Linked DNA regions of Homo sapiens: all the other regions are linked to region 4. Evidence: promoter capture Hi-C in 16 types of primary human blood cells and fetal thymus (Javierre and others, 2016). All regions are on one chromosome and are shown on one strand. The core of a region is centred on a gene start or on the middle of the fragment in contact, and the rest is flanking DNA. Distances in the headings are between cores, read along the strand shown.

Region 1 (5,563 bases), core at 110-2,609, 340 kb after region 4:
AGTTTTGGCTTGGGGCAGTTTTGTAAAGAGCTACATATTACTAGCTATTATTATGAGGCTATTGTTCAAGTCTTAATGGATCTGCCAAACAATCATTTTGACTTATACTCTCTTCTAAATTAATTAGTAGTTTGACTAATCAGTGTGATCATTTAAGGCCAACATGCCCCAAGGGAAAACGTGTAAATAAGTTTTTTTGAATTATTCAAATAAGAGAAAATTCTATTTGAAAAAGAAGTCTCTAGCAGTAAAACTTTTCACAGAAAAAAACCCCCAAAACCACACCTGAAAAGAACCTGAATGTTTAATAATAGGTGATGAACTAGGATAATTTTAGTATATTACTTAGACTCTTATGTATTTATCACAAATAATTAGTGTTGGTGTTACATAAGAAAACCCATTCTTGGGGAAGGATTAAATGCTAACCAAAGCAACTTATTTTTAATTAATATTTTTAGACTCTATGCTGTCATACTGAACTCACTGCTAGCTAAGAGACCTATCAGAGATTTAAATATATTTTCTCAAGGTTTTTTCTGGGTTTTCTTTTGGTTCTATCTATGTGACAGAGGCTCTTTCTAAAAGTATGTAGTTCACTGTGTGTTGGCTCCAGCAGTAACCATCCTCACTGCACCACACACTCCTCTGTAGAAGTGCATTCAGTGGGAGTTCCCTCCGGCCCCAGGACGGCAGCAGCAGCCAAGTGCTGAGTGGATTGAGTGCCAGGTGGATCCGAGACTTTTCCTCCCTTCCAGAAGGCACTAGAAGCTCCTCTAACTGAAGGCAGGGTGGGTCATGTGGGGCCGGCTGAAATGCTCCAACTTTTTCATAAAGCATGGGTGGTCCAGTTTAGACTGATGGGAATCTTCCTGTTATTCTTTTTAAATGGATGATACCGATGGAAATAAAAGGTGGAAAATATATTTAAAAAAAGAAAACCCATTCTTTTAAACAATATATATTGAGCACCTAACATATGCCAGGCACCATAATTAATGACAGGCATAAAAACACAGATGGGACCTTGGCCTCTGTTCTTATGGTTCCTGTAATCCCATGGAGGAGATAGCCTTATAAACATGAAAAAGGGTTTACAACTTACCTAAGAAATTAGAATGGCAAATTTTTATGTATACAAATTTTCTATAATGAACATGTATTATATGTATAATAAAAGTAGTAAATTCTTGTAATATAGTTTTTATAACTATGTAAAATACGTAATTATTAGTAGAGAACACAAAAGAGTGAAAATAATTGTGTTAGGGTAATCCTAATATGATATTCAGTTTTATTTCAACTTGGCCAGGTTATAGTCCCAATGATTTAGTTAAACATTAATCTAGATATTGCTGTGCAGGTATTTTGTAGATGTGGTTGACATCTTCCATCAGTTGATCTTATGTAAAGGAGAGGTCCCTGGGTAATGCGGGTGGGCCTCATCCAATCAGCTGGAAGGCCTTAAGGGAAGACACTGAGGTTTCCTGAATAAGAAATTCTCCCTGAAGGCTGTAGCATCAGCACTAGTCACAATAGCAAAGACATAGAATGAACCCAGGTGCCTACCAATGGTGGATTGGATAAAGAAAATGTGGTACATGTACACCATAAAATACTACACAGCCATAAAAAAGAATGAAACCATGTCTTTTGCATCGACGTGGATGCAGATGAAGGCCGTTTTCCTAAGTGAATTAATGCAGAAACAGAAAACAAAATATCACATATTCTCACCTATAAGTGAGAGCTAAACATTGAGTACACATGGACATAAAGATAGGACTCCAAAAGGGGGAAGAAGGGAGGGGGACAAGGGTTGAAAAACTCCCTATTGGGTACTCTGTTCACTATCTGAGTGATGGGACCAATAGAAGCCCAAACTTCAGCATCAGGCAGTATGCTCTTGTAACAAACCTGCACATGTACTCCCTGAATCTAAAATTTTTTTTCAAAGACTACAGCATCAGCTCCTGCTGCAGCCTCCTGGGCTGTCTTTGGATTTTGGACTTGTGTGAGCCAGTTCCTTAAAATAAACATCTTTATTTCATATGTATATGTATATATTACACACACACACACACACACACACACACACTTACCTTCTGTTGGTTCTGTTTTTCTGGAGAACCTGACTGATACAGCTACTGCCTTTTTCTTTTAAATAGTCCTTAATTTAATGTTGGTTTTATCATGTATAATTTCTTTAAAGGATCTTCTGCCTTTATGAGCCCCTTTGACTATCTTTTCTCAGTCCTCCAGCAACTTCTGCCCACCATTGGCTTACAGATTCCCAAAGCCTGTCTGTTAAGGCAGAATCTAATGGAGACAAAGGCCAGAGTGTCTTAACTTGCATATTTCCTTTTTTCTCTCCAAACTGGCTACTGAGCAAGGGCAGTGGTGGCTCTCAGGCTCAAGGCCAGAACAGCTCTGTGCATGCCTGGACTCCATCAGCCCTTTGTTGGATCCCAGAGAGCTGTGCTCCCATCAAGGGACAGTGGCCCATCGAGGGCAGTATTTTTTGACAACCCAGGGCAGTTTGGCTAAGACTAGTACAAAAGTCCCAGGAGCCCTGGGTGGTGTGCCATCCCCAGCATTCTTCAACCCCCACCTCACCTAGAAGGGGATTGGACAGTGAGCTGTTAGTGATTCACTCTTCAGTCTGAAGCATGGTCTTGTATTTCTTGAGAGGTGGCATTGTCAAATAAACGCAGGTTCTGGGAACAGAACCTTGGGTTGCAATTTCAGCTGAGCCACTTTCTGGCTGTGTGAGTGCATCAAATTTATTTAACCATGTTGTGACTCTGTTTCTCATCTGTGAAGTGGGAATATCTATTCAACCAAACTTGCAGGGTTGTGGTGAAGATGTCATATATAATGTGTAATTTTCTAGCACATAGTAGGGGATCCCACAAATTGTAATCACTATGATGATTATATCTTTGAGGGTGAGGATGAATTTTGGAAAAGCCTTTGTACACCTTTCCTAAGAAGTGGAGACCATATCACCTCCCACATCCAGCTGAGGATAAAGAAAGAAAGGATGCTTGCAAAGCACACTGAACCCTGAGAGGATGCCAGGATTTCACTGTCATTTAATATTGCCACCATGTTGGTTAATAACATATTGACCAACTCTACAAATAGTAGAGTAAATTTACTATCACTCAGAAATTTTGTTTTTGCAGCTATGTTCTTCTCCCAGAAAATATGCAAACAGTAAATAAATAGCTCTTCTCTTTTTCTTTCTTTCTTTCTTTCTTTCTTTCTTTCTTTCTTTCTTTCTTTCTTTCTTTCTTTCTTTCTTTCTTCTTTTTTCTTCTTTCTTTCTTTCTTTTTTTTCTTTCTTTTTTTTTTTTTTTTACCTCCTGCATCATATTTATAATTATCTTGGCTTGGTGGACAGGTGCCTGTTTGTGCTCCCACATTCTCCTAGGCCCCAGGACTCAATGTTAGTCAGCTTTCATATATCTGCATGTGGATTATCCACTTAATGAGGCATCTGCCAGGAAAGTTTTAATCCTAACCAAGCTTTCTCCTAGCATCTCCCTCTCCCTCTTTTCCCTCCCTCAGCCCTCACCCAGCTGATGTGTGCTTAGGAAATGCAAACTAATTTTAAAATTCTCTAGAGCAAAACATGATTAGAATGGTTAAGTCTGCTGCCAAAAATAAAATCAGCTAATGCATTCCATATATTTAGATTTCCAAAATTAAGTTGAAAGGATGCTTAGTTCATCCAAAGTTTGGTTGATACACATCATCCCGTATCTCTGCTAGTTGACCCTACTTTTTCTGGCAGCAATAAATTTGGCTGTCCTGCAAATGGCATCACCTTTTCCACATCCCAGGGCAGTATTTTTCCTCTCTCAGCCTGCTGAAAATGGGGTCCCATTCCCTGTCCAAGATGGTGAAGAACCTCTACCATGCTGGGGAGAAGCAGCAACCAAGAAACACTTCTGGCTCTGTCTAAACTTAGGTTCTCCTCTTCTTTCATTCCATCTATTCAGCTTTGCTGGATGGTCATGGATTCATCTGGGGAAAGGTGCTTCAGTTAAACCAAGTGCTGGTACTAAGAGATATGAGAAAGTCTTAGAAGTCATGTTGTTGCCCGCAAGGAGCTCACAATCTCTTTGCGGAGACAAGATTAGCATTACAGTACAGCGTACATGACAAAATACAATTGATTGCTAAATTTTTTGGCAGAGAATATAAGGAGAAACCTAAGGGAGAGATTATCAGAAGGGCTGGAGCAGTTTTCATGATGAAGGAGGCACTTGTGTTGGGAGGAGGATAGGTTACGGGAATCGAGAGGGCATCTCCGGTGAAATAATCAACTGGAGCAAATGTAACAATGTAGAAATGAGCAAGGCTCATGGTTGCAGGACAACAAAAGAAATTAGCTTGACTTGAATAGAAGCACTGTATTAGGGAGTTGTAGAAAGTAGAGGTGTTTTAAGACTCTTTTGGTTGTAGGGAGCAAAAAAACCAATCTGATCTATTTTAAGAAAAAAGGGGAATTTATTTGAAGGATATAAAGGGATGTCATGGGCCTCAAGGACAGTGGTGCATGGAAAATTGTGTCTGGATCCAGGAAGTTCTCACGGCATCTCTTGTCTTCATTCCTCTGCAGAGCTAACTTCTTCAGTTGCCCGCAGCATCTTGAGTGCTCTCATTCATTTTCCAGTCTACTGGCTGTTATTCTACCTCAATTCCAAATTCCTGGGAGAGAGAGAACCTGTGGGGTTGCACTGTGTAAGCACAGACATGGCTGCTGGTGCCCCTCCTGGGTGGGAGGGTTGGAGTGGCGAGGGAGTTGGGGTCAGTCCTAGGAAAGGAGAAAAAGAGTGAATTCAACAGGTGAGTGAGAATGGCTAGGACAGGCCACCTGCCATTTGCTTCTTTCAGAGTCTGTGAGGAAAACTGGGTGAAAAGACTCCAGTTGTTTGGGATTCTATAAGGTATCCCACTTTCGGTAACTCTTGAAAAATCCCAATTTTGAAAGCAGAGAAACTGGCTTGTGACTACTCACTTCGTGAAACAGATAAACCACAATCCCTTTCAGCTCTCAGTGACGCTTTCCCATTAGGTTTCTAATTATGCCCATCTTATCTGTAATGCACCCTTAATTTGGGGAACTTCCTTTAGTGGGATTCAGGGTCCCACCCTGGGCCCAACCCAGGGCCCAACCCAGGCCCGGCACCCTCCATGCTGGGAGGACCCAGGAGGGAGAGATGCTCATCGCAGTTGGCCAATGGCTGCCTGCTGGTTGAAATGTGAGCTTCCTGAGGGCAGGAATAGGTCCTCTAGACACCTTTATATCCATCCGATGCCTGCTACGTATTGATACTAATGAATGCTTATTGAGCAGAATGAATAAAGTCAGTTCCCAGATATAAGAAATTCATAGCCAAGGAGCAGCTTAAGGAGAATATAGCTTTATTATAAATGAGGGAAATAATCATAGTAATATGTCCCTTCCTGCAGAAACATTATATATGGCACTACTTCTGGTCCTGCCAACAGTGTCTCTTGCGGGCTGGATGACCCCAAGTTCTATTTAGAT
Region 2 (5,122 bases), core at 2,168-4,667, 290 kb before region 4:
CACGGTGAAACCCTGTCTCTACTAAAAACACAAAAAATCAGCCGGGCTTGATCGCGGGCGCCTGTAGTCCCAGCTACTTGGGAGGCTGAGGCAAGAGAATGGCGTGAACCCGGGAGGCGGAGCTTGCAGTGAGCCAAGATCTCACCATTGCACTCCAGCTTGGGCGACAAAGCGAAACTCCATCTCAAAAAAAAAAAAAAAAAAAAAGGAAAGCAAACTGGAGTCATAGGAATGGAGATAGTGCAACCCAACTGCTGCTTCTTTCCCTCCAGGGACAATCACTTGAGGGCCATTCCCAGCAGGAGTGACTGGGGGGTACTTACTCCAATGGTTTTTCCTGAGAAGCTGACAGTCCCTATAAGTAAGCAGGTGCAGACAGCCATGCAGACACTCTATCAAAAGCCTGGCTCTCCACACCACGATTTAGAGATCAAAGTTTACCTGGATGGAGCCATCTTTTTTTTTTTTTTGCTAGACTCCAGAGATCTGAAAGGTGAGGGAAGTTATGTTTCACTAATTCCTGAGTACTCAGAGTGTGGTATGTGCACCAATCAGTCAGAGCTAGTTAGAAATGCTGAATCTAGGCCGGGCATGGTGACTCACGCCTGTAATCCCAGCATTCTGGAAGGCCGAGGCAGGCAGATCACTTGAGGCCAGGAGTTTGAGACCAGCCTGGTCAACATGGTGAAACCCCCGTCTCTACCAAAAAATACAAAAATCAGCTGGGCATGGGTGGTGCATGCCTGTTGTCCCAGTTATTGGGGAGGCTGGGGTGGGAGGATTGCTTGAACCCAGGAGGTGGAGGTTGCTGTGAGCTGAGATTGCGCCACTGCACTCCAGCCTGGGTGATAGAGTGAGACCCTGTCTCAAAAAAAAAAAAAAAAAAAAGAAAGAAAGAAAAGAAAGAAATGCTGAATCTAGTTCCCACCCCCACCTACAGAATCAGAATATGCACTTAAATGAAGCCCCCAGTTATCCTCAAGCACCTGGAAGACTGAGAGGCAGTATTCTGCTCTGGAGCAAAAGGGTGTGACCATTTTGGCTGCAATGTGACCATTTTGGCTTCTCTGCCCTGGCAGAGGTGGGCTGAGGTGGGCTTTGGAGGAAGAGTCCACACCTTGGCTAATCGAGGCCGACCAGGCTTGCTTGACTTTAGTGGAAGTCAGCCAGGTTTCCCTGGCTTAGGGACTGTGAGCTGTACCTGCTCCACTGGACGACCAAACAGTGAGCTGGCTTTAGGCTCCTGGCACTGCTAGCTTCTTCCAGTGATCTCAGAAACATATGCTATGCCCTGATGCAGAAGTCCCTTCCCCACTCCCCCTACTGCTAAAGACCTTCAAAGGGAAGGGGATTTGCTGTGGTCTGTCAGCCCCCTGCCCACTCCCCACTTCCCAACCCAAAGTGAAAAGTGGATTTGAAGTTCCTATATTTTATATTTATTATTTATTTTAGAGATAGGGTCTCGCTCTGTCACCCAGGCTGGAGTGCAGTGGTCAATCATAGCTCACTACAGCCTCCAACTCCTGGGCTCAAGCGATCCTCTGGCCTCAGCCTCTGTAGTAGCTAGGACAACATTTTGTTGTTGTTTTGTTTGTTTCTTTGTAGAGATGGAGTCTCACTATGTTGCCCAGGCTGGTCTTGAACTCCTGGCCTCAAGCAATTCTCCTGCCTTGGCTCCCCAAAATGCTGGCATTACAGGTGTGAACCTTGGTACCCGGGCCAGAAGTGCCTATAAACAGTATCCTGGCTTCCAATTTGACCCAACAATCCAGCAATAAAGAGTGCAAAAAAGGGCTACCTGCGCCTTCAGGCCGGCCTCAGGGCCCACCCTGAACAAATCCAGCAGACACTTACACCCTCATTTGAAAGAACTCCAAAATTGTCAGGAATTGTCCTGGTAGACCATTGTGACAGAGACAAAGGAGAACAGCATGGACTACAAAAGACCCAGCAAGGGAAAGAGGATGAGTCGGGAATGGCAACAAGAGCCCCTGCGAGCTTTTCCTTGGCTCATTTCTAATAGAAAAGGAAGCATTTCTCCCTTCTCTGCCTGGTTGCTATTTCTTGTCCAATCTGGGAAAACGGTGTGACAATGGGCAACAGACACGTGTTCAAGCTCTGGGGCCTCAATGCCGGGCTCTGTAGAATAAGACGGCAGGGCTGGACAAGATCCCTAACCGTTCTAACAGTGTATGTTTTGGATCAAACAGCAGAGGACCTCGGATCTGGCCGCGCTCGCTGCTGGTGGGACAGCTGCCTGAGAAAATAAGCATGTGGCCCCCGCCCGCCACCTAGCCAAGCGCCAGGATCTGTCGCGTTTTCTAGTAGTATGGAAAGCAGCGTGGAGGAGAATGAAGGGAGAGGAGCAAAAAGGGGTGGGGGCAGTGCGACAATGAGAGGGGAGGAGAGAGCCACGAGGATTTATTTCATCATGCAAACAGGCGCGTAGGTTTCATCAGCGTCTGTGCGCTGGGGCTCCGGGGCTGGGAGGGAATGCCAGGTTCCTGAGGGCAGCCCGAGGCTGGCCCCCCCACCCGTGCCAGCTCAGCTTCCTCTTCCTCATCCTCTCCCAGGGAGGTCACACGGTGCCTCCTCCTCTCCCCGGACAGAAGAACGTGTTTTTCTGCACAGCCCTGGCCGTGGCGCCAGGGTCCCCCCCGCGGAGATCCCACTCGCGTAAATGGGGAACGTGCCACAGGTGCCCGGGAGGCGCTGCTGGAGCAGGCAAGCACCCCCAGATCCGAACCTCAGTCAGAGCGCGCGAGTCCAACACAAAACTCGGCGTGCTTCGGGAAGGAAAAAGGGCCCTGCAGGAATCGTTTATCCCAACAGATAATACCCATCCCATAAAAACACCAGGCCAGGCCTCTCCTGGATCGTGGGCCACCCTAACTCCGCCCTCTCCCGCTTCGGGAGCGCCCCCAACACCCACAAGGGGCAGCACAGCTCGGCATGTGGCTGTCCTGGAGGCGTGCGTGTTTGTTAGGTGTCAGCTGTCTGACACCTAACAGAAAGAGGAAACAAACGGGGCAGTTTGTAACTCGGGTCTGGAAGACGCACTCAGAGGGGAAGCGGGCGGCCACTTCCATGACCCTCGCTGTCTCTCCGATGCCCCTTTTCCGTTCTTTCCAATCACGGCGCCCTTGAGCCTGGACACCCGGTCCAATCCGCGATTCCCGATCCTCCCGCCCGCCCAGGAGCCGGCAAGCGGCGTCGCCAAGCCCGCGCCTACCTCCCGGGGTGGTGCTGAAGAGCGTGCCGCCGGGGGTCGTGCTGTAGTCCCCGGGCGGGAGCTGCACGCCGTCGCCGAGCACCACCCGGCGAGTGGCGGGGATGGCCCGGCTTGGGGTCTGGCTGCAGCTGCTGCCCCCGGACATGGTCTCCTGTGCGCTGCACCCGCGAACCTCTCGCTGCCCTCCCGCGCCTCCAGCCTCGCTCCGCCTCGCCCCGTGCCGCCCCGCCCCAGGACGCCCCTTCCGCCTCTCCCGCCCCACGCCCCTGGGATTTGTAGTCCGCGCCGCAGCCCCACCCAGCTCCAGGACGCTGCTTCCACGTGGGATCCCCCGCCGCCCCCCGACCCACTCCCGTCTGCTCACGGGCTCTTCCGCACGGGCGCTGGCGCCGCCCCGCAGCGACTGCCCCTCCGTCCGGGGTCCCTCCCCGCCACGCTGGCAGGGACGGATATGGGGATGGCGGGCGGGATAGCTCGCCTAAATTAATCCTTGGCTGGGTTGGGGGCGGCGACTCAGGACCGCGCGGAGATCCGAGCTGACCCGGCCCACTGCAGGAAGGCCCGGTTTCTGCATTAGGACATCAGGCCTGGTGTACCCTTCGGCACTCCCTGTTTCGTGCCTTAGTTCCTCAGATGAGAAAATGGGGATTGAGTAGTTATGCTCACCGCCCCCCGCCCCGCTTCAATTTCTTGACCTTGATGGGGGTGGGGGTGGAGGGGCTAACAATTCCGTTCCCGGCCTTTAGAGAGGGTGTGGGAGGAGGAGTGAACCAACCAGCGGCGTCCTGGGAGCTAAATTTAGAGCTGGGGGCGCAGAGGTGGGTGGTGGGGAAGGGCGTTGGAGAGGAGTAAGAGTGTCGAAGAGGTTTCCCGATAGCCCCTGAATTGAGTCCAACGTCCACCTGAGGTTTAGTAGGTACTCCTTGGATGGATGGATGGATGGATGGATGGATGGATGGATGGATGGATGTTCAAGGGGAGAGAGAAAAATGCAAGAAGGACCGAGGATGGAAAAGCTTGTTGGGTTTGAGAAGTTCTTAGCATTATGGGCACATATTGTGGGGAAGAGGGTGAAGAGGGGAGGGCAGTTTAAAAGGGAAATTGGGTGGTGCACCTGTAATCCCAGCTACTCAGGAAGCTGAGGCTGGAGGATGCTTGAGCCCAGGGGTTTGAGGCTCCAGTGAGCTGTGATCACACCACTGCACTCCACCCTTTGTGACAGAGACCCTATCTCTAAAAAAATATATAATAATTTTTTAAAAAGGAAATTGGGGTCAGGTCGTTGAGTTTTTCAAATTATGCCAAAGTGCTTGGACTTTGTCTTAGAAGGGCAGGAGATATCAGAGATCTTTTAAGCAGGGGGATGACATGATTTGAGTTGTTTTTTGGAAGGATAACTAGTAGCCAGTGGAGTTTCAGAATGGGCCAAGGAGGGCAAGGCCTGAGATAGGGAGACCTGTTGAGTTTGGTCTCACTTTTGAGGGAAACTTTAGGCCTACAGTGGCTAAGACAGTAGCCACCAGCTACAGGTGCACATTGAGCACTCCAAATGTGACCAGTCCAAACTGTCACAAGTTTAACATACACACCATATTTCAAAGACTTAGTGTGAAGAAAATCATGTAAAATACCTGAATAATTTGTTTCTATATTGATTGTATGTTGAACTGATAATATTTTGAGTATACTGGGTTAAGAAAAATACATTATAAAAATTAATTTTGGGCCAGGCGCAGTGGCTCACGCCTGTAATCCCAACACGTTGGGAGGCCGAGGCAGGCGGATCATGAGGTCAAGAGATCGAGACCATCCTGGACAACATGGTGAAACCCTGTCTCTACTAAAAATATAAAAAAAATTAGCTGGGCATGGTGGCGCATGCCTGTAGTC
Region 3 (5,574 bases), core at 2,178-4,677, 370 kb after region 4:
TTTTTCTTTTTGAGACAGGGTCTTGATCTGTCACCCAGGCTGGAGTGAACATGGCTCACTGTATTTTTTATCCCCGGGGCTCAAGCAGTCCAATCCTCTTGCCTCAGCCTCCAAACAGGCACTCTTAAACACTTTACATATATATTAACTTATTTACTTGAGACAGTGGATCTATATGGTGCTTAAGCATGATTCATAGTTGATACTACTATCTTGCATGGCTGAAAATAGAAATTTTGTAATATTCTATAAACATGTGGACAGTAGTGCCATTGGGAAATTGGGTAGAACATCTAGAACTATTGTGATTTAACAAGATTATTTCTCTAATCTACACAACCATGAATTCAGTTTGATGATTTCAGAAAAAGATGACATTTGGACTCATAAACATTATAACTTGTGGAAAATGGTGTCCAATTTCTCCACCATGATGTCAGAGCCTTGGTGGGAGCCTCAGCGAGAGAGCAGGGGAGAGAAGTTTCTACCTTTTGTCTCAACCGGGTTCTACATGCCTGATACTTGGGAGCTGCAGCGACCCTTGTGGGTTTATCTGGCCTCCAGGATGAAGGTGGATCTATGTGTCTGAAGGGTGAGGGCAATGATGAGTTACTAGACATTTACTTCACTGAGCTCCTGGGAGAGACGTTTATTCTCCCCCTTGCTGTTATATATGGGTAATGATTCTTGCTGTTCAGTCAAAACATGGAGGTTGAAGGATTCATAGATTCAAGGAGGCTTTGACACCTCACTTTCTGTTATTGTACCAAGTTAGTTTTTGGAGATGATGAGAAAAAAGGAAGTTGCCTTAGTGCTCCACACATAACAGGACCTTAATATGTGTTTGTTGAGTGAATCAGCAGTTTTCTCTCTTGCCTGCCCTGGCACTGTGATAGCAATTTGCTATCTTATTATGTTAGGTTCACACCCTATTAGTATTTATTTTAGTTAATATAATGCAATTAGAGTGTAATCATATCAGTAGCTCTCAGATCATGTCAAAAAAATAAAAGTTATTGAAATACCAGTGCTAATATAAAGTGATAGAAAATAGTTAATGTGATGAAATACCTGGATTGAGTTATACATAAAAAGACAGTTGGGGAGGAGGAGGAGTGGGAGGATCAGATCATTGGCTTCTTCTGAGACTCTTGTTTAAGTGCTCATGAGCTCGGGAGTGCTTTGTCTCTGCATTCTCTCCCTATTGGGCTGTGATCCTATTTCTTGAGAAAAATTTCCTCATTTGGATCTGTCCAAAAAGGTTGTCTTGAGGTTGATAAAGGAAAAATGGAGACCAAGATGTACTTCCAGCTCTTCTCTAAGTGGCTGTGTGACATAGCCAAGCCTCCTAATCTCTCTGGGCCCTTAGTTTTCACCTGTACAATAAAGAGACCTGGATAATTAAAAAGACCCCTGGCTTTATCATTGTATTTAATGATTAAAGCATATAATCTGGCCCCGGTTGTTTTCTTTCTGCCTGAAACAAACCCCAAAGCAGCCAGTGGCTGCAGACAGACTACCAGTACTTCAGCACTGTGCAAATTAGTGGGTACCATTCAGTGCCTGCTGCCCCATCTGACCAAGTCTCCTAGGTCCTGGTGTAGACTCTGCTCCAGAGTGTCTTAAACCATTATGAGGCCTCGGTTGGTCATGCTTCCCACTTTTCATTGTTTGTTTGTTTGTTTTTGAGATGGTGTCTCACTCTGTCACCCAGGCTGGAGTGCAGTGGCACGATGACGGCTCACTGCAATCTCCACCTCTTAGGTTCAAGTGATTTTTGTGCCTCAGCCTCCTGAGTAGCTGGAATTACAGGTGTGCACCACCATGGCCCGGCCAATTTTTGTATTTTCAGTAGAGATGGGGTTTCGCCATGTTGGCCAGGGTGGTCTCGAACTCCTGGCCTCTAGTGACCCACCCGTCTTGGCCTCTCAAAGTGCTGGGGTTACAGGCATGAGCCACGATGCCCGGCTGCTTCCCATTTTTTGGTCCTTTCTCCAGCCTCTTGGCTGGCCCTACTTTCCCCTACCTGTCAAGGGAATGGGTGGAGGGCTTGGACAGGTAGAAAATTCTGGAAATGAAGTCACGTGAAGAGGAAGGAGTCGTCTCCATGAAAAGCCAGATACTGTTTCCCGGTGGTGCTGTTGCTTGGGAGGCCAGAAGCCATCATGGTGGCTGCTCTGTTTCTGATCCCTTCACAGAAGGGCACAGCTCCTGCTCTAGGCCCTGGTCCAACAGTTTGATTCTTTGGTGCCTCTGAAGCATTGCCATAAGAAGCTCATTGTTTGGGATTTGTTAGGTACAGTGCTGGTGGTGCAACCCTGAGGAAATAATTAACAATTATTTCTGAGGAGAAGCTTCCAGCCAGAGCCGCACCTTGTGGTGGCACATACGTCTCCCAAAGAATTGTTATTTAAGCAATAATCCTTGAGAAATTGGTCGTTACCCACATTAAACGACTCAGCCCATTGCCAAGGATGGTTAACGCTCTAATAAACTGGCCATTAACTGCAGTAACAATGAATTTCGAGGGGATTATTGCTATTATAAACCTTAATCAATGGTTTATAACAGCAATAATGTGGTCCTTTCTCTTAATGGTAAGTAGGGCAGCTTGCACCATCGCCTTGAAAATGTTTTTGTGGTGGCGGCGAAGTCCGAGGGGAGGCATGGGAAGTGCTGCCCACTCTTCAGGAATGGACCATGGAAGGCAAGGGACACAGCTGAAGCTCATGGCTGCCCTGGTCTGCTCTCCAGGGATCAGGTGTGGAACAAGGAGCTGGGGATTCTCCTCCAACCCACATGTCCTCTGCCATTACAGACCGGTGAGGCACTGGGCTTTGGGACTCCTGGGCTTGCTTGTCCAGCACAAGATCTGGATTGAGGATGTGACTCTGTGTGGGCCTCCTTATGAGCAATAAGAAATAAGAAATGGCCACCTGCTTCGTGGAGTGGATGTAGTGGGGTTGCAGAATGAACACTGGCCTTGGTGTTGCTCCAGGATCCATTCTGTCCCTGCCTTGTTACGAGATTCCAGATAAGTCACATCGCCTTTCTGATTCTCTGAAAAGTGGAGTGTGGAATAAATAACTTCCCAAGTTCCTTTCTAATATAACACTCCATGGTTCCTTTAATAATATTGACATGTTATGTTAGTATACCATTATAGAGCAATAATAATAATCACTTACATAATGTCTTGTATTGTTCTTAGTTGTTTGCATATATTAATTCAATGAATCCTTGCAACAACCCTACTTTTGTTGTGGAGGACCCTGAGGCAAGAGAGATGGAGAAGCTTGTCTGAACCACAGAGCTAATCTGAAGTGGAGATGGGATTTAGATACAGATACTCTACTATCGCTCTAGGAATCCACCTTCATTATTTAATTTGATCCTTGCATCTTTTGACATAGGCAAACTGGGGCTATCACTTTAGGTTCACAAATGAAGAAACCAGGGCTTCAAGAGATGAAGAGACCTGATCAAGTAAATAGCATGGATCTGAGTACTGCCTGGGCAGAACCTCCGCTTCTGGCTGTGTTGGTGCCAGGAAGCTTCCAGACTCAGGAGCCTCTCTCTCCAATGATGTGGACTGGCTGTATCCTGAGGCCAGTCCCTCCTTGCTGAGACTTTCTCCCCCAGCAAAGGGAAAGGAAAAAGTTCACATCCTCCTACATATTACTGGAAACACGCTCCCTGGAGCTAGGAAGGCTGATCTTTAGTTCCAGCCTGGCATTGCTTAGAATGCACGAGAGAATGAACACTGTGGTGGATTTTGGGGGCCAGGGCATTTAGGTATTTAATTTTAATTTTTGTTACTATGGAAAATTTAAAGCATATACAGAAAAGGGATAGCATAATGAACCCCCAAATACCTATCACCAGCTTTAGCAGAATCCACTCATGTCCTAGCTTGTTTCATCCAACCATTGCCCCCCTATTCTTCTCACCTTGGATTATTTTGGAGTAAACCATAGTTATCATACCATTTCATCTGTTATCACTTTAGTAGACATTGCTAAAAGTAAAAAAGAAAAAAATTGCAATACTGCTATCAGACCTTAAAAAATTAACAATAATTCCTTCATATTATCTAATATCTAGTCATATTTTGAATTTCCCAGCTTAATCATGAAAATATTTAGATCTTCTTCTTGCTCCGGCTATCCACGTGCTCTGTGACCTAAGACAAATCACTTTTTGGGTTTGTTCCCATTTGCTCATCTATAGAATGAGATGTGCAGCCAATGCCACTTCTCTTTCATCACTGGCAGGTGGAAGGCCTTTGAATGACAGCACTTCTTAATAAGCCACACTGTCATGCCCAGGCATCATCCATACACCACTGGGAGGAAACTTTGAGAGGCTACCACCATAGCATGCACTTTGGAGTTTGACTTTCTTTTTGTGCTGCACACTCCAGAGAGCAGATTTGCTCTGGGAAATAGAGGAAAAGAAAGAGCAATTCTTCACATGGGCCCTGCCTCCCTGGAGAGGTGCACTTGGTGACTTTTCTCAGGAAGGGGAGCAGAGAGGATGCTGGCTGCATTTCTGCCATCAGTGATGTGCTGCTGCCTGTCCAGCTCTGGCCTTGGGGAGAATCTGGCCATATCAAGTGAGAAAGCTCTGTTCTCCTCTTAGCCTTGGTTGTGTGGGTGGATGATAAACCCAGTTCTGCCTGCTCCAGTGGGTGTGCATTTCCTCAGGTGCAAAGTGAGAGGGCTGGGCTGGGTATTCCCTGAAAGGGTGCATAAGAAACACCTGAGGGTTTTTTCAAACTTTATATTTTCTTTTTTAAATTTCAACTTTATTTTATTTATTTTATTTGATTTTTTACTTTAAGTTCTAGGATATATGCACTGAACTTGCAAGTTTGTTACATAGGTATGTATGTGCTATGGTGGTTTGCTGTACCTATCAACCCATCATCTGGACTTTAAGCACTGCATGCATTAGGTATTTGTCCTAATGCTTTCCCTCCCCTTTCCCCTCACCCCTCGACAGGCCCTACTGTGTGTTGTTCCCCTCCCTGTGTCCATGTGTTCTCATTGTTCAACTCCCATTTATGAGTGAGAACATGCAGTGTTTGGTTTCCTGTTCCTAGGTTAGTTTGCTGAGGATGATGGTTTCCAGCTTCATCCATGTCCCTGCAAAGGACATGAACTCATTCTTTTCCATTCTTATTTTAAATACAGAGGATATATATGCAGATGTGTTACATGGGAATATTGTGTGATGCTGAGGTTGAGAGTACAGATTCTGTCACCCAGGTAGTAAGCACAGGACCCGAGAGGTAGTTTTTAAACTCACCCTCCCACCCTCTGGCATTCCCCAGTGTCTATTGTTCCCACCTTGATGTCCATGTATGCTCAGTGTTCAGCTCCCACTTACAAGTGAAAAAGTATGATATTTGGTTTTCTGTTCCTGTGTTAATTTGCTTAAGATTATGGCCTCCAGCTCCATCCATGTTGCTACAAAGGACATGATTTCATTCTTTTTATGGCTGCATAGTATTCCAGGTGTATATGTATCACATTTTCTTTATCCAATCTACCATTGATAGGCACCCGGGTT
Region 4 (5,304 bases), core at 2,358-4,857:
AGCCATGGCTACAGATCCCTTTCTTCCTCTCAGCTAGATCCTAATATTCTAGGAAGCCTGATGGTAAAACATAAAACTATTGTTCATGCTTTTGCAAGGAGAAAAATAGGCACATAGGCTAAATGGAATAAAGACAGCAGAACCCACTAGTGCAGTCCCAGCGCTTTGCGGGGCTGAGGTGAGAGGATTGCATGAACTCAGGAGTTTGAGACCAACCTGTCTCAAATAGTGAGACCCTGTCTCTACAAAAAAAGAAAAGGAAAAAAATTAGCTGAGTGTGGTGGTTGTATGCCTATAGTCCCAGCTACTTGGGAGGCTGAGATGTAAGAATTGCTTGAGCCTGGGAGGTTGAGGATGTAGTGAGACATAATTGTGCCACTGCACTCCAGCTTGGGCAACAAAGTGAGACTCTGTCTAAAAAAAAAAAAGAAAAAGACAGCAGAATCCATGGGTATACTTAGATAAGAGAAAGTCTGGCCAGGCGCGGTGGCTCACGCCTGTGATCTTTGGGAGGCTGAGGTGAGTGGATTATTAGGTCAGGAGTTCAAGACCAGCCTGGCCAACATGGTGAAACCTCGTCTCTACTAAAAATACAAAAATTAGCCAGGCGTGGTGGCAGGCACCTGTAATCCCAGCTACTTAGGAGGCTGAGGCAGAGAATTGCTTGAACCTGGGAGGCGGAGGTTGCAGTGAACCAAGATCTCACCACTGCACTCCAGCCTGGGCAACACAGCGAGACTGTCTCAAAAAAAAAAAAGATAAGAAGTCTGTTTTACTTTGTCATATCTGTTGGGCTTGTGGCAATCCATTAGGGCAGTTAAGTCCAGTAATATGGTTATCAACTACCTGCACTAATGCTGGAGTCCAATGACATGACCAACCAAAAGAATAATTTGAAGTACTTTATAAATAATTGAAATATATGTTTTGGCAATAGAGTTACCTTTCTAATCAAGTTATATGTAAATGATGAAGTTAAAAGCCTTTTTGGGGAACATGTAAGCAGATGATGGGGAGAAAGAATTAAAGGAGAGAGGAATTCCAATCAGAGTTTTAGAACTTGCTGTTAGCAATCCAGAAACAAGCATCACAACAGCACATATAAGAAGAGTTCATAAAGACATAAAGCAAAACACTTGGTCATGGAGGTTACTAAAAAGAAAGCAACCCAAGACTTATAAGTGCTTCTTTGCTTTATATTAGGCAAAGAATTAAAAAAAAAACCAATAAAATAAACAGTGACATAATGGGTTCCTTTATTGTAGGAACCACTATCCTAAGGCTTGCTTTGATTGACGTAAGTCAACCTGCAGGCTCTTTCATTTTTCTTGAAATGTTAATATTATTTTATTTTTAGAGACAGGGTCTTGCTCTGTCACCCAGGCTGGAGTGCAGTGGTGTGATCATAGCTCACTGCAGCCTCAAACTTCTGGGCTCAAGTGATCCTCCCACCTCAGCCCCCCAAATAACTGGGATTACAGGCACGTGCTGCCATGCTCGGCTAATTTTTTACTTTTTGTAGAGATGGGCTCTCACTATGTTGCTCAGGCTGGTCTCAATCTCCTGGGCTCAGGTGATCCTCCCATCTAAGCCTCCTGAGTAGCTAGGACTACGTGTGTGTGACACCACAGCCGGCCAATTAAAATTTTATTTTTTATTTTATTTTTTTAGAGATAGGGTCTCACTATGTGACCCAGGCTGGCTGAAATGTTAATTTTAAAAGAGCATCCCAAATTAGCAGAGTAGGCTACCTTCTCAAGTTGCCATCAAGAACTGGTACTCAGCTGGCTTTTGTAAAGGTAACCTAGCAGTGTAGAGCTAAGACTGCCAGAGGGATGTAGAGCTAAGACTGCCAGAGGGATGTAGAGCTAAGACTGCCAGAGGAATGTAGGAGAAAACAGTATTTTAGGGATGATCAATGAGGAGCACCAGTTTCCTTTAGATTTTGTCTCTAAATCTATATACACATTTATTAATCACCACCCATGGCATCATCTTGGACTACTAAGTGAAGTTCTAAATTTACATATATATGTGTGTGTGTGTATTCTCTTTCCCGTGGTTACTGACATAAAAAGCTCCATCTGAAAAGGCTCCCCTATTCAAGGAAATATAAATAGAGATGTTCAGCAGAATCTGCTAGGAAAGCAATGACCAGGAAAGGGAGCTATTTAACAGGAAGTTGCCGGCTTCTCCCTGTCTCTGCCTTACCTGTAATATACCCCAATATGTCCCTCTTCTATCTTGTGCACAGCTGAGAAGAGAGATGCACAAAAGAAACTGGAAGCCACAGCCACAACTGCTCCCAACTGAGCCATCAGTGAGCCTTTATCCTAGGGAAAAGACACGGGAAAATGTGTGTGGTCCAACGTGCAGGAGAAAAGGCCACAACAGCGAGAGGACCTCACCAAGCTGAGCTCCCTGCGAGTGACTCATATCCAGCCTGGTGTCGTGTGAACACAAGGCTAGATCTACAACTCGCTTCCTCCTCGTTCTCAGTCAACGTTCCCCTTTCTTTAACTGTAAAATTAGAGCCCCCACCGCACTGAGGAAGCACTGGCTCCGGATACAGCCGTTGCTCAAGGGAGAACCCGTGCCAGCTGGGTAGGGTTCAGAACACAGCCTTGTCTTCCTGTGAACACGAATGTGCTGTCACTGAACCTTTCCTACCAGTAGTAGGGAAGAGAGGCAGCTGCAGTACTTTGGCCCAAATTACAGAGGATGCCAAATGACAGGCAGTTGTGGCTATGTAATTCTGGTCAGAGTCTCCCACTCCTAATTGCCTGCAGTTTCAAAGGAAACCATTATTTACTCCTTTCAGATGCTGGAGTGGCAGAGCCAGCAGGCGAGCAGAGTTTCAAGGTAGGATTCGTTGGCCTCGCATCCACCTTCCCAGTTATTCCTTTGGCCCTAAACAGGACAGGGCTCTGAACAAGCCTGAAGCCACACTCCCCCCCATATACTTTGGCACTTTGCACCTGACAGATCCCCAAGCCCGTGGTCAGAGAGAAAGGCAATGTCCCAAACTGCGAGCCTCTAGGCTCCTAGGTCCAACCGCGTTCAGGCACCAGGACGCGGAGGAGTGGGATCCTGAACGCTGAATGATCTGGAACTATGGTGACTGACTGCAAAGTTCAGCTGTGCGTGCGTGGGCCCGTGAGCGCAGGGCGTGGATTCTGCCTCCCAGGTCTAACGTAACCGGGGCGCGGACATCTGCGAGGCGCTTATTTTACCGTGGCGGCCTCCGGCTACCGATCTGCAGTTGCGTCCTTTCCTGCCAGTGCCCTTCCCTCCCCGAGGTCACTCGCGCCCCTTCCCCGCCCCGTTCCGAGAGAGGGTCAAGCGCCCTGGTCTGGGGCTGCGGCTCCAATAGCCTCCGCTCGGTCCCCCTGCGGCTCGCAAGGAGAGGACGCGACAGAAAAGGGTTTCTGTCTCTCTCCAGGAGCGGGCCGGCTGAGGGAGAGAAGCTGCTGGGACTGAGGTTCCCGAAAGTGACGGGTCAGCCCCGACCCTGAGCGGCAGCTAGGCCCAGCGCGCGCACGAAGGGGCGGGGGCCGCGTACCAGGCTGTCCCTGCAGGCGCTCCGTACTCGTCCGAGCCCACGAGCAAGAAAACCGTCACACCCCTCAGCACGCGACTTCCTTCCGGGCCGTCGCTTCGATGACGCCATCAATTCACGCGAGAAGACCACACCCCCGCCCCGCGCTCGCTCTGCGCCCCGCCCCTCGCGCTCCCAGCGGTCAATGGCCGTAGCTGGCCGCCAGGGATCGCCCGCGACTTGGTCGGTGCGGTCCTGGACCTCGGTCTTGGGTATCCGTCCTGGGGCTGGGGATGAGGGCGGTGTTGGTGGGAGCTCCCCGAGAGCGAGCGGCAGGACGCGCATGCCCCGGAGTACTGAGACCCAGGGCGAACCTTTCCAAGGCGTTGACTTTGGGGATTGCTCCGGATTTCCTTCTGCATTAGGCCGAACCTGGTTCGTTTTGGTTTTTTTAGAGACAAGGTCTCGCTCTTTTGCCCAGGCTGGAGTGCAGTGGCACGATCATAGCTCACTACAGCCTCGAACTCCTGGGCTTAAGCGATCCTCCCACCTCACCCTGCTGAGTAGCTGGGACCACAGGCGCACGCCACGACACTTGACAATTTTATTTTTAGTAAAGACAGGGTCTTGGTATTTCTGGTCTCAAACTCTGGCTTCAAGCAATCCTCCTGCCTCGGCCTCCCAAACTGCTGGGATTACAGGCATGAGCCACCATGCGCGGCCTTTTTTTTTTTCTCTCCTTGATAAGGTACTGGCGAGTTGCAACTGTTTGCTTTCCTATAGCACAGCTGAAATGAAACAGTCTTTTCAATGTACAGATTAGCATCATTACCTCACCAATCAAAAATCCCTACCTTGAGTTGTTCTTTATATTTTTCTGGGAGCTTTGGCCCTTGGGATCCTGCAACGCCACAAAGTATATTAACAAGGAATTATTATTCTAATTTTAATGAACGGAATCTAAGAAGTTCAGCGAGGTTCAAGGGTAAAAGCCAAGGAAAGTTTCCTTTGTGTTTCCTTAATATCTTGAGTTCACTGCTTTTTAAACTCCTGCCACAGTGCACAGGGGCTAGTGCACTTCGTCTTTCTAGATAAACTGTACGTTCCCGGGAGAGCAGAGACTGACTTTCCTTCCGCACCCCCGGGGCTTAGGTGCCCAGTAAAAACAGACTGAAGGCAACGTGGGACCAGGCCCGGAATCCAGAGTTTGTGTCTCCTAGTCTAAGGGCCTCACGTTGTCCTCCACCTGCCCTATTCACCAGCATCACATTGGGGCATTTCTAATTCAGCCACTGAGGTTATTAATATTTTGTTTGCAGGAGAGAAAGAGTCCACTTAATTATAGCCTTCAGTAAAAGAAAAACTTTTACACCGGGAAGATGGCAAGCTGGTGGTGTTAGACAGATTTAAGACTCAGGAAAAGGGAAGTGTGGTTTTTTCCAGGCATGCCTGCTTGGGATTGGCCCGTTTACCTTTCCTGCGTTTGCTCTGGGTGTTGGGATGTTTCAGCATTACATGGTGAAACCCATACGAGGGTTACATGGTGCTGTCTGGGAGCTCTGTGCCCATCTCCATAAATGAAGGCCTTTCATCTCCCTACTCTGTCCCTGCATCCCCCACCCCAAACAGACACAGCTGGCCAATCTCTCGATCAATCCTATCAGAACTTGAGTTTTTTCTCTCCCTGTTCAGTGATATAACCTCAGCTGGGCATGCTTATTTAATAGTTTATTTAATAATTGAGTAAGAAAAATGGAAATATTAGG

Evidence for each region. Contacts are between HindIII fragments. The CHiCAGO score rates a contact against its expected background, and 5 or more counts as called.
Region 1: a contact is called between a fragment that was not itself captured here and the fragment with the promoter of ERLIN2 in region 4, in 1 of 17 cell types (monocytes). The highest score is 7.7, in monocytes.
Region 2: the fragment with the promoter of EIF4EBP1 here is called in contact with the fragment with the promoter of ERLIN2 in region 4 in 2 of 17 cell types (monocytes and activated CD4 T cells); the score reaches 6.5 in monocytes.
Region 3: a contact is called between a fragment that was not itself captured here and the fragment with the promoter of ERLIN2 in region 4, in 3 of 17 cell types (M0 macrophages, M1 macrophages and monocytes). The highest score is 7.8, in M0 macrophages.

Annotation. Positions count from the first base shown.
Region 1 is chr8:37,393,859-37,399,421 of GRCh38, reverse strand. No RefSeq gene overlaps it. Among named protein-coding and RNA genes, the nearest start is that of LINC01605, 200 kb to the left of the region's middle. The HindIII fragment of the contact is 4,349 bases long and covers 1-3,533 here.
Region 2 is chr8:38,028,829-38,033,950 of GRCh38, reverse strand. EIF4EBP1 (eukaryotic translation initiation factor 4E binding protein 1) reads right to left here and starts at 3,417. Exons shown (of 3, transcript NM_004095.4): 1 at 3,233-3,417. The coding sequence starts at 3,377. RefSeq lists enhancers at 2,597-2,696, 3,326-3,620 and a silencer at 3,197-3,636. The HindIII fragment of the contact is 5,036 bases long and covers 1-4,250 here.
Region 3 is chr8:37,362,165-37,367,738 of GRCh38, reverse strand. No RefSeq gene overlaps it. Among named protein-coding and RNA genes, the nearest start is that of LINC01605, 230 kb to the left of the region's middle. The HindIII fragment of the contact is 259 bases long and covers 3,298-3,556 here.
Region 4 is chr8:37,734,937-37,740,240 of GRCh38, reverse strand. It overlaps ERLIN2 (ER lipid raft associated 2), which reads right to left and starts at 3,607. Exons shown (of 12, transcript NM_007175.8): 1 at 3,563-3,607; 2 at 2,212-2,333. The coding sequence starts at 2,318. It overlaps LOC102723701 (a long non-coding RNA gene), which reads left to right and starts at 2,815. Exons shown (of 2, transcript NR_125821.1): 1 at 2,815-2,862; 2 at 3,443-5,304. RefSeq lists enhancers at 2,253-3,045, 3,525-3,734. The HindIII fragment of the contact is 8,102 bases long and covers 1-5,304 here.